2 separate regions of the Homo sapiens genome follow, and region 1 is linked to region 2. The links are contacts of gene promoters, found by promoter capture Hi-C in human tissues and cell types (Jung and others, 2019). All regions are on one chromosome and are shown on one strand. The core of a region is centred on a gene start or on the middle of the fragment in contact, and the rest is flanking DNA. Distances in the headings are between cores, read along the strand shown. Region 1 holds the start of RPS15 (ribosomal protein S15). Region 2 holds the start of BSG (basigin (Ok blood group)).

Region 1 (4,745 bases), core at 1-2,500, 870 kb before region 2:
AGGCGGGAGGGTCGCTTGAGCCCAGGAGTTCAAGACCAACCTGGACGACACAGAGAAACGCTGTTTCCACAAATAATCAAAAATCAAGGTCGGGCGCGGTGTTCACGCCTGTAATCCCAGCACTTTGGGAGGCCGAGGCAGGTGGATCACCTGAGGTCAGGAGTTTGAGACCAGCCTGGGCAACACTGAAACTCGTCTCTACTAAAAATACAAAAATTAGCCGGACGTGGTGGGGGGGCCCTCTAATCCCAGCTACTCGAGAGGCTGAGGCAAGAGAATCGCTTGAACCCGGGAGTGGGAGGCTGCAGTGAGCTGGGACGGAGCCATTGCACTCCAGCCTGGGCGACAGGATGAGACTCCGCCTCAAAATAATCAAAAATTAAAAAATAAAAGCGCAAGCCAGATGCCCACCACCACCCTGCCTGGAAAGGACCCAGCGACCTCCACCGCCCTTAAAATCTAAGGAGTCTAACGCAGCCCCTTATTCTAAGTCACGTGGGCTACAGACAGGGGCTACACCTTCCAACTAAGCCGCGGAAAAGTGAACAACGGGGGGCAGGTTGCAAATAAGCAAAAACCTCAACGTCTCTGGACAGTTTTCTGGGCGCAAGACCACACTCAGTTCCAAACCCGCGCGGAGACCGTGCCCGCCCACCGCCGCAGAGGCGCTTGGACCCCCGCCCCGCCGCCCTCACCCGGACAAGCCCCACCGCTGGCCCAGCCCCTGCCCGCGACCCCCGCGGCCGCCCTTACTAGGACATGTCCAGCAGCTGGTCGAGGTCCACGCCGCGGTAGGTGAACTTGCGGAAGGTCCGCTTCTTCTTCTGCTCTACTTCTGCCTGTGCGGGCGCGGATCGGGCGTCAGCGGGATCCCGACACCCATCTCCCGGGGCCACCGGGCCCGAGGACACCGCGGAAGACGCGCGGCGCCGCCGGGGACAGAAGCCCGACAGGGACACACCGCTTCGACCCGTCCCCGGGGATCACTCGCGGCTCCGGGTTACGAGGACCCGGACATGAAGGCCCGGACAGGCCTTCCCAGCCCCGCGTCGTCCCGACACCCACCAAGTCCGCCCCTCGCCCCAACATCCAGCCGCCTGCAGGGTCGGGAGCAAGCCGCCGTAGCCGCGGGGACGAACTGCGGCCCCCGCGAGACGGTCAGAGGTTGGATGGAGCCGGATAGGCCCGGCAGAGACGCGCCAAATCGCAACACTCACCATCTTGCCGGATCCTCAGAAGAGATCGCTTTGGTCCGCGCCTGCGCAGTTATCGCGAGACTGCCGGCATGTCCCGCCCCCTCGGCCGTGCGCGCACACGCGCTTCCGCTTTCCCGGCGGCGAACACGCGCCCTCTGCCGTCTGGAGGGCAAAACACAGGCTGCAGGGATTAGAGCAGCCGCCGCCTGAGGTCTGCAGAGCCGCTTCCTCCACGGAGTGGGACTTTGGACAAGTCGCCGCCCCTGTCTGAGCCTCGGGTTCGTGCTCCGTCATCTACACGATGGCACCCACATCAACAAGTATTTATGGAGCGCCTACCGTTTGCTCGTAGGTGCGGTTTGGCGGTTCAGGTCCCACTGTGGGAGGAACACGAGAATTCATTACAGATACTGGAGCAGGGACAGGGCCTCGCTGAAAAGAACCATTCCGGCTTTAACAGATAAAATTTTGTATATAAAGTTAGTAAGGACAACACAGTGAGACTGCCTCTCTACAAAAAAATACAAAAATTTGTGTACACACGGACATAAAAGAATAAAAAGTACAAAAAATTCCCAGCTACTCGGGAGGCTGAGCCTTCAGCCCAGGAGGTCAAGGCTGCAGTGAGCCGTGATCGCGCCAACGGCACTCCAGCCTGGGCGACAGAGCAAGACCCTGCCTCAAAAATAAAGTTAGGAATATCACTGGGTTTGTTAAGATATGTAAATGTAATGTGAATAATGATAGCTCAAAGAGAAGGAGTAACTAGAACTATGTAGGAGTGACTTTTTTTTTTTTTTGAGACAGAGTTTCACTCTTGTTGCCCTGGCTGGAGTGCAGTGGTGTGATCTCGGCTCACTGCAACCTCTGCCTCCTGGGTTCAAGCGATTCTCCTGCCTCAGCCTCCCAAGTAGCTGGGATTACAGGCACCTGTTACCGTGCCCGGCTAATTTTGTATTTTTAGTAAAGACACGGTTTCTCCATGTTGGCCAGGCCATGTTGGTCTCGAACTCCTGACCTCAGGTGATCCACCCGCTTTGGCCTCCCAAAGTGCTGGGATTACAGGCGTGAGCCACCGCGCCTGGCCTAGGAGTGATGTTTCTGTATCTTACTGGAATTAAGTATAAAGTTGAAGGTGACTATTAACTATGGATGTGGCACCTGGCTGGGCGTGGTGGCTTATGCTTGTAATTCCAGCACTTTGGGAGGCCGAGGCGGGCGGATCACCTGAGGTCAAGAGTTCAAGACCAAGCTGACCAACCCTAACTCTACTAAAAATACAAAAAATTAGCCAGGCGTGGTGGTGGGTGCCTGTAATCCCAGCTCCTTGGGAGGCTGAGGCAGGAGAACCGCTTGAACCCGGGAGGCGGAGGTTGCAGTGAGCTGAGATCGCACCACTGCACTCCAGCCTGGGCGACAGAGACTCCTTCTCAAAAAAAAAAAAAAAAAAAAAAAAGAAAAAGAAAAAAAAAAAGCACAAAACCTCTGGGAACCCGAGCTTAGCTGTGGCACTGTCCAGGGAGCTGAGCTCTCCCCAGCCGTCCCCACAGTCCCAAGGGAAGCCAATTACACTGTACTCAGGGAGGGCTGAGTCTCCGTCCCGAGGAGCACAGGACCTATGTGTCGGGCCCGTCCATGTTACCCATTTTCCTGCAGCAGAGTGTCCTGGCTGGAAAGCTGATTTTGTGAGTGCTGCTCTTTGGCTGGGGGAGCTAATGTAACGGGAGGGGCTGACACTCAACACCATGATGACCTGTGGTGTGGATAGACAGCCGCCCCCGCCTGGCCCTCCTGGGAGCTGGGGCAGCAGCTCCTGAGGACATGGGAGAAGGCTCTGACGGCAGGGAATGGAGCTGGCTTCCTGGGCTGAGGCGTTGAGGGGTACTGTCTCAGTGAGGAAACTGCACTGCACAGGGATGTTGGGGGTACCCCTTCTCTTGGTTCTCTCCAAACTAAGTCAAACCTTCCCTGTCCCCAAAATATGAACTGGGGCGGGGGGGGGTGGTTCTGGCTGTCGCCTGAACAGTCTCACGCCTGGCACGCTGTAGGCTTCCAGTTTGGGACTTCATGGTCCTTTTTTTTTCTTGTTTTGTTTTTTGAGACGGAGTTTCGCTCTTGTTGCCCAGGCTGGAGTGCAATGGCGCAATCTCGGCTCACTGCAAGCTCCGCCTCCCAGGTTCAAGCGATTCTTCTGCCTCAGCCTCCCAAGTAGCTGGGATTACAGGCATGCACCACCACACCCGGTTAATTTTTGTATTTTTAGTAGAGACGGGGTTTCTCCATGTTGGTCAGGCTGGTCTCGAACTCCCGACCTCAGGTGATCCGCCCGCCTCGGCCTCCCAAAGTGCTGGGATTACAGTCGTGAGCCACCGCGCCCGGCCCTTTTTAAGTCTCGCCTTCCCTGCCACAGTGACAGAGTATCCCTTTCCAAAGATGCCCCTGTCCTAATCCCCAGAACCTGGGGATATGTCACCTTCCATGGCAAAAGATATGATTAAAGGTCTTGAGATGGGAAAAGCCTGGAGCCCACATTCCCCGAGAAAACTGGTGGTGGCCACATCCTCAAAGTCACAGCATCCCAAGACCCACTGAGGGATGGGCCCAGCTCGCCACTCAGCCTCTGCCCTGAAGCCCTCGGGGTTGCTGAGACCACCAAGAGCCAAGGGGAGGGCGAGGGCGCCTCCGTCGCGTTTCAGACCTTTCCTAGGCACTGGAAGGGTAGGCACAGGCCAAGACCAAGGAGGGAAAAAACGGACACAAAGTGGTTTCTAATCCAAACGCACTTCTCTTTATTCAAACCAGGGTCAAACTGGTCAATGGGAAACGCCCTGAAGCCACGTGCCTGGGGAGAAAGGCTTCCTACTCGGTTCGGTTCAGCGCTGCGTGGGATCCACGCGGCTGGCTGTGCGCAACCCCCACAGTTCACCTCAGACACTACCAAGCAGGTCAGTCGACAAAAGCAAGGAATTAAACAAAAAACAGAAATACACTCAGTAGATTTCTTCTAGAAGCTCCCAGAGTTTCTGGACCACCAAGTCCCAACCCCCAAAGCCAGGAGCGAGGGGACTAACAGCGCACCCCCTCCACCAGTGCCGACGGAAACCCCGTTTTAAATTAAAAAATAAGCCAGTATACATCGTAGAAAATTTCTCTTAAAAATCTCACAATTTGTAAATGTATATTTTTTCTTTAACATAAAAGTTTACAATATACCGTAAAACAAAAGGCTCAGGAAAATAATTTCCAAAAAAAAGGAAGAAAAAGAAACCTGAAGTTTTGAATTAAAGCTGAAGACATTTTTTTTAAACCCTGTTGTTGAACCAGTGACTTTTTTTTATTGTGCTGATGGGTTAGAGAAAGAAATATTTAAAAACCTCAGTCCAGACGACACCCACAGCCGCTCCAAAAGCCTCGCGCCCTCCCCCCGCCCCCCCCCCCAAGGTTGAGTCGCCACTTTGCCGCCAAGTTTGTGATTGTCACGAGTTCACAAGTTTGGAATCCTGGGTCTGGGCCGTGCAGACGTCGCGGCGCCGCGGGCTAGCGTCGGTA
Region 2 (4,558 bases), core at 469-2,968:
CCAAAGTGCTGGGATTACAGGCGTGAGCCACCATGCCCGACCTCTTTTTTTTTTTTTTTTAAAGACAGAGTCTCCCTGTTACCCAGGCTGGAGTGCAGTGGCATGATATCAGCTCACTGCAACCTTCACCTCCCAGGTTCAAGCGATTCTCTTGCCTCAGCTTCCTGAGTGGCTGGGATTACAGGCGTGCGCCAACACGCCCAGCTAATTTTTGTATTTTTAGTAGAGATGGGGTTTCACCATGTTGGCCAGGCTGGTCTTGAACTCCTGACCTCAGGTGATCCACCCGCCTCAGCCTCCCAAAGTGCTGGGATTACAGGTGTGAGCCACCACGCCCGGCCTCACTATAAATCTTTAACCCAGAACCAAATGGGGGTCTCAACAAAGGAAGAAATTTTCTATGAAGCAAGAAAGGATGTCATGCTTTTCTCCCGGAAAAACACACCTCAATCCATTTCCCAAATGCGCTCTCCAAACCACGTTTGCCCACCCTCAACACACGGCCCTCCTAAGACAGCACTGGAAACCGAATGCGGGTCAGAGTCGGCTAAAAACGACTTTCTCACTATTTCCTGCGCTGAATCGGGTGGCCAGGGCCCCCTCACTGTGACCTTGGAACCTCGACTTCCCACAGGGCTGTTTCCTCGCCTGTAAAGGAGGAGGGGCGTTCAGAGACCACCTCATTCTGGGTGCTGAATCCAGGCAGAATCAGAGGGAGATTCCGCCTTCCCTTCCACGCAGGGCCCCTCGAGGGAGCCTGCGAGGTCTTAAGAGTCTGGGAGAACACCCGGGGGCAGGTGCACGCCCTAGGCAAGACGCCAGGGCTAAATCCCGTGAAGAACGGTAATCCCTTCCCGATCCGGAGGGCTGACCCACTCAGAGCCTCCATGTGCTCTTGGAGGACAAAAGCCCCTTTTCCAGAAGGGAGCGCCAAGATGATCGCTCCAGGCCGCACGGGCCCTTGCGGGGGCCCCAGAGAGTCTCAGGGGAGGGTCTCTGACCCTAACACTCGCAGGCAGGGTGGACCCGTCTCCAGATTCCACGCCCAGGCCGCTTTCCCCAGGTCCTGCGGAGTCCAGCCCCAGCAGGACGGGTTGGGCAGGCACCAACCAGCCCCTGACCCCTGGCTCCAGGCCAAAGGGGACGCTCACCCAGGCTTTGGGTCTCCCTTCTCCTGGCCGATGGGACCGGCGGGCGGGCCACCTCCAACCGCCTTCGCAGACGCCCTCACCCAGGAAGCAGGTCACCCCCAACCCCAGGTGACCGAAAAGCAAGACGCCCACCTCCCCTGACCAAGACCGGCCTGGCCAGGACCCCCTGGCTCCCGCCTCCAAGCAGGGAGCTTCACGCCCACACACAGAGGCCGGGCTCGAGGCCGGAGCGCCCGGGGGAGCCCGGCAGGCCGCGCCGGGAGGAACCTCTAGTCCCCCCTCAAACCCTGGGACTTCACCCCCAAGCTCCATGCTGGCGCGGGAAGCCCCCGGGGCCGGCCTTTCGCACCCCAGGCCGCCCCGCGCCGAGGCCCCAGGCTCCCGTCGGCTTCGGGTCGGCACCGCGGCCTCCATTCCCGGCCCCTGCAGGACCGCACCCCCGCCCCCTACCCGCTCCTCACCAGCCCCGGAGGCTCCGTGGGTGCCCAGCAGCGCGAATCCCAGCAGCACGAACAGCGCAGCCGCCATGATTCCTATTCCTCGCCGGTCCTACAACCTCCAACCGCTGCCGCCGCCGCCCGCGGCCGCTATAAAAAGCGGCGGAGGCGCGGACCGGGCGCGCGCACGCACGGCGTCATCTCGGGGGCGGGGCGAGCGCCGGGGACGCCGGTCGCCCCGCCTGCGCACGCGCGCACACGCTCGCATGTACGCGCCGGCTCCGGCAGGCTCACGCTACGGAATCCGGGCGGCGGCGCACGTGACCCGGCGTTGCTAGGAAACGGGAGTGGGGCCTGCGGGGACGCGGCTGGAGCCTGCGCATTTCTTCCTTCCTGCTTTCAAAGTTGCAATGAGCGCAGAGCGGTGCGCCCGAGGGGGTTGAAGCGTTGAAAGTGTGTTACCCAGATTTTATCTGAGTTAAACACGGGCCGGCCGCTGTGGCTCACGTCTGTACTCCCAGAGCCTTGGGAGGTCGAGGCGGGAAGATCGCTTGAGCCCGGGAGCTCGAGACCAGACGCGGCAACATGGCGAGACGCACATCTCTGCCTTTAAAAATGTACATATATATATATATATATGAACGTATTAATAAATTAGGTGGGAGGAAGTGACCTCCTCCGCCCAAATAAAAATACTTAAAGGGCACTTGAATCTGGATCTCAGAAAATGAATAATTTCTTAGTATAAACGTCCTGTGCACCATTTGGTTGGGACAAGTAAGTTCCTCTTCAGAAACTCAACTTCCAGGTCTAAAGTTGTCAATCAACCTTACCCCCTTCTTCTTTCCTCGCAGGTGGCGCGTTTACCCTATTTTAAAAAAGTTTTAAGTTTTAGCCAACCGGGATCAGCTTAGATTGTGGGCGTCCAACCCCAGCCAACAGGGAAAGGACAGAGGAACAGAAGCTCCCTTCCTTTGTCCCGTGTGCTCTGGAGATTGCATCCCACGCAGGCAGCCCCCTTCCGTACAAGTAAAGTGGTCTCGCTGAGAAATTTTCTAAGTGCTGGTTTCTCTTTGCGGGACCGACTCGCCGCCCCCAAATATCCCATTTGGATCCCATTCTGTTTCAGGAGAGGCTGGCGGTTACCTTTCTTGGGGAGACGCGTCCGACTGCTTCATTGTGGGGGCCTCAGGAGCGGAGGATCGGGTCCCGCCCGAGGTGACGCGTAAACCCAGACTCTCAGCAACGCGGGTAGGAAGGACCCTTGAAGTTCCGCGGCGACCACGGTGAGAAAAGTCGCTATTGGGGCGACACAGGTGGGGGCGTCTCTTGGAGGTTGAAAGTGTGTGTTGGAAGTTAAACTCGGAGTCGCAATGCAAGAGGACCGCAGACTAAGCCGAACGCGAAGGGCTAACTGGAAAGGGGCAGGAATGTGGCTACACTGGCGGGAAGAGCCCGTGGCGACGGGAGGGGGATGTGCAGAGTGGGTGGCAGGTGCCATCTCTGCAGATCAGGACCGGCGGGAAACTTGTTTACTGAGACTCAGACGGGGAGGCCCAGAGGGTGAGGAAGTCAGGTTGGCCTTGGAAGTAGGAAACGAAGAACGAGGGCGCTGAACGAGCCAAACCTTTGAAGAGGAACTTGTGAATGAATGAGACGCGCCATATCTTTTGTGTGTGTGTGTGTTGGAGTCTCGCTGTGTCACCCAGGCTGGAGTGCAGCGGCGCGATCTCGACTCTCTGCAACCTCCGCCTCCCGGGTTCAAGCGATTCTCCTGCCTCAGCCTCCTGAGTAGCTGGGATTACAGGCGCGCACCACCACGCCCGGCTAATTTTTGTATTTTTAGCAGAGACGCCCCATATCTAAAGAAGGGTGGGATCCTCTAGACCACCTTCCCCCACTCACCCCTCCGCCCCTCCCAACCCACCCCCTCCGCCCCTCCCAACCCACCCCCTCCGCCCCTCCCAACCCACCCCCTCCGCCCCTCCCAACCCACCCCCTCCGCCCCTCCCAACCCACCCCTCCGCCCCCCCCACCCACCCACCCCACCCCTCCGCCCCTCCCCAACCCGCCCCTCCGCCCCTCCCACCCACCCCTCGCCCCTCCGCCCCTCCCCCACCCGCTCCTCCGCCCCTCCATCCCTCCCCTATAGAACCACCTGGACCTTGCCACCCACATCCCCGCTGGACAGCCACTAGAACATGCCCCTTCCTCAGGAAAGCTCCAACGGGAAACAGAACAATGCCAAAGGGATATTCGAAACTTTCGGCCGGGCGCGGTGGCTCACGCCTGTAATTCCAGCACTTTGGGAGGCAGAGGCGGGTGGATCACGAGGCCAGGAGTTCAGGACTGGCAGCCTGGCCACGATGATGAAACCTCGCCTCTACTAAAAATACGAAAATTAGCCGGACGTGGTGGCGGGCGCCTGTAATTCCAGCTACTCAGCTACTCGGGAGGCTGAGGCAGGGAATGTCTTGAACCCGGGAGGTGGAGCTTGCAGTGAGCCGAGATCGCGCCACCGCACTCCAGCCTCGGCAACAAGAGCGAGACTCCGTCTCAAAAAACAAACAAACAAACAAAAACCCACAGAACTTTCCTTTTGCCTCCTGCTCAAAAAGACCTGCCTCAGCCCTTTTCCCCTTTAGGGAAGGACCACCGGGAGGAAGGGATATTGACTTCGTAAATGCCCCCTTTAACCAGTTCAGAGGTTAGAAATCTAAAAGAACTCAAACCACTGTTAGATGACCCTTTTGGATTCGCGGATCAAATTGACCAATTTCTGGGGCCACAGCTGTACGCTTGGGCTGAATTAATGTCTACCCTCAGTACTCTCGTCTCAGGAGAGAGAGAACCATGATTCACAGGCCGCTGTGTTAGTCTGGGAGCGTGAACACCCCCCGGTCAGAACGTCCTTTCAGCGGAGCGTAAATTCCTGGCCCAAGATCCTGGGTGGGATGACAATGTGACCTA

The links. Contacts are between HindIII fragments. The study calls those that stand out against the background at their distance.
Region 1: a contact is called between the fragment with the promoter of RPS15 here and the fragment with the promoter of BSG in region 2, in 2 of the 25 tissues and cell types used here (dorsolateral prefrontal cortex and lymphoblastoid cells).

The regions. Positions count from the first base shown.
Region 1 is chr19:1,434,901-1,439,645 of GRCh38, reverse strand. It overlaps RPS15 (ribosomal protein S15), which reads right to left and starts at 1,250. Exons shown (of 4, transcript NM_001018.5): 1 at 1,218-1,250; 2 at 754-839. The coding sequence starts at 1,220. DAZAP1 (DAZ associated protein 1) reads right to left here. Exons shown (of 12, transcript NM_018959.4): 12 at 3,962-4,745. The coding sequence ends at 4,734. RefSeq lists enhancers at 1,007-1,226, 635-1,505. The HindIII fragment of the contact is 20,902 bases long and covers 1-4,745 here.
Region 2 is chr19:569,756-574,313 of GRCh38, reverse strand. It overlaps BSG (basigin (Ok blood group)), which reads right to left and starts at 1,718. Exons shown (of 9, transcript NM_001728.4): 1 at 1,613-1,718. The coding sequence starts at 1,679. It overlaps BSG-AS1 (BSG antisense RNA 1), which reads left to right and starts at 2,066. Exons shown (of 3, transcript NR_184018.1): 1 at 2,066-2,205; 2 at 2,718-2,874. RefSeq lists silencers at 1,378-1,557, 1,728-1,947 and enhancers at 2,768-2,817, 2,898-3,470. The HindIII fragment of the contact is 13,063 bases long and covers 1-4,558 here.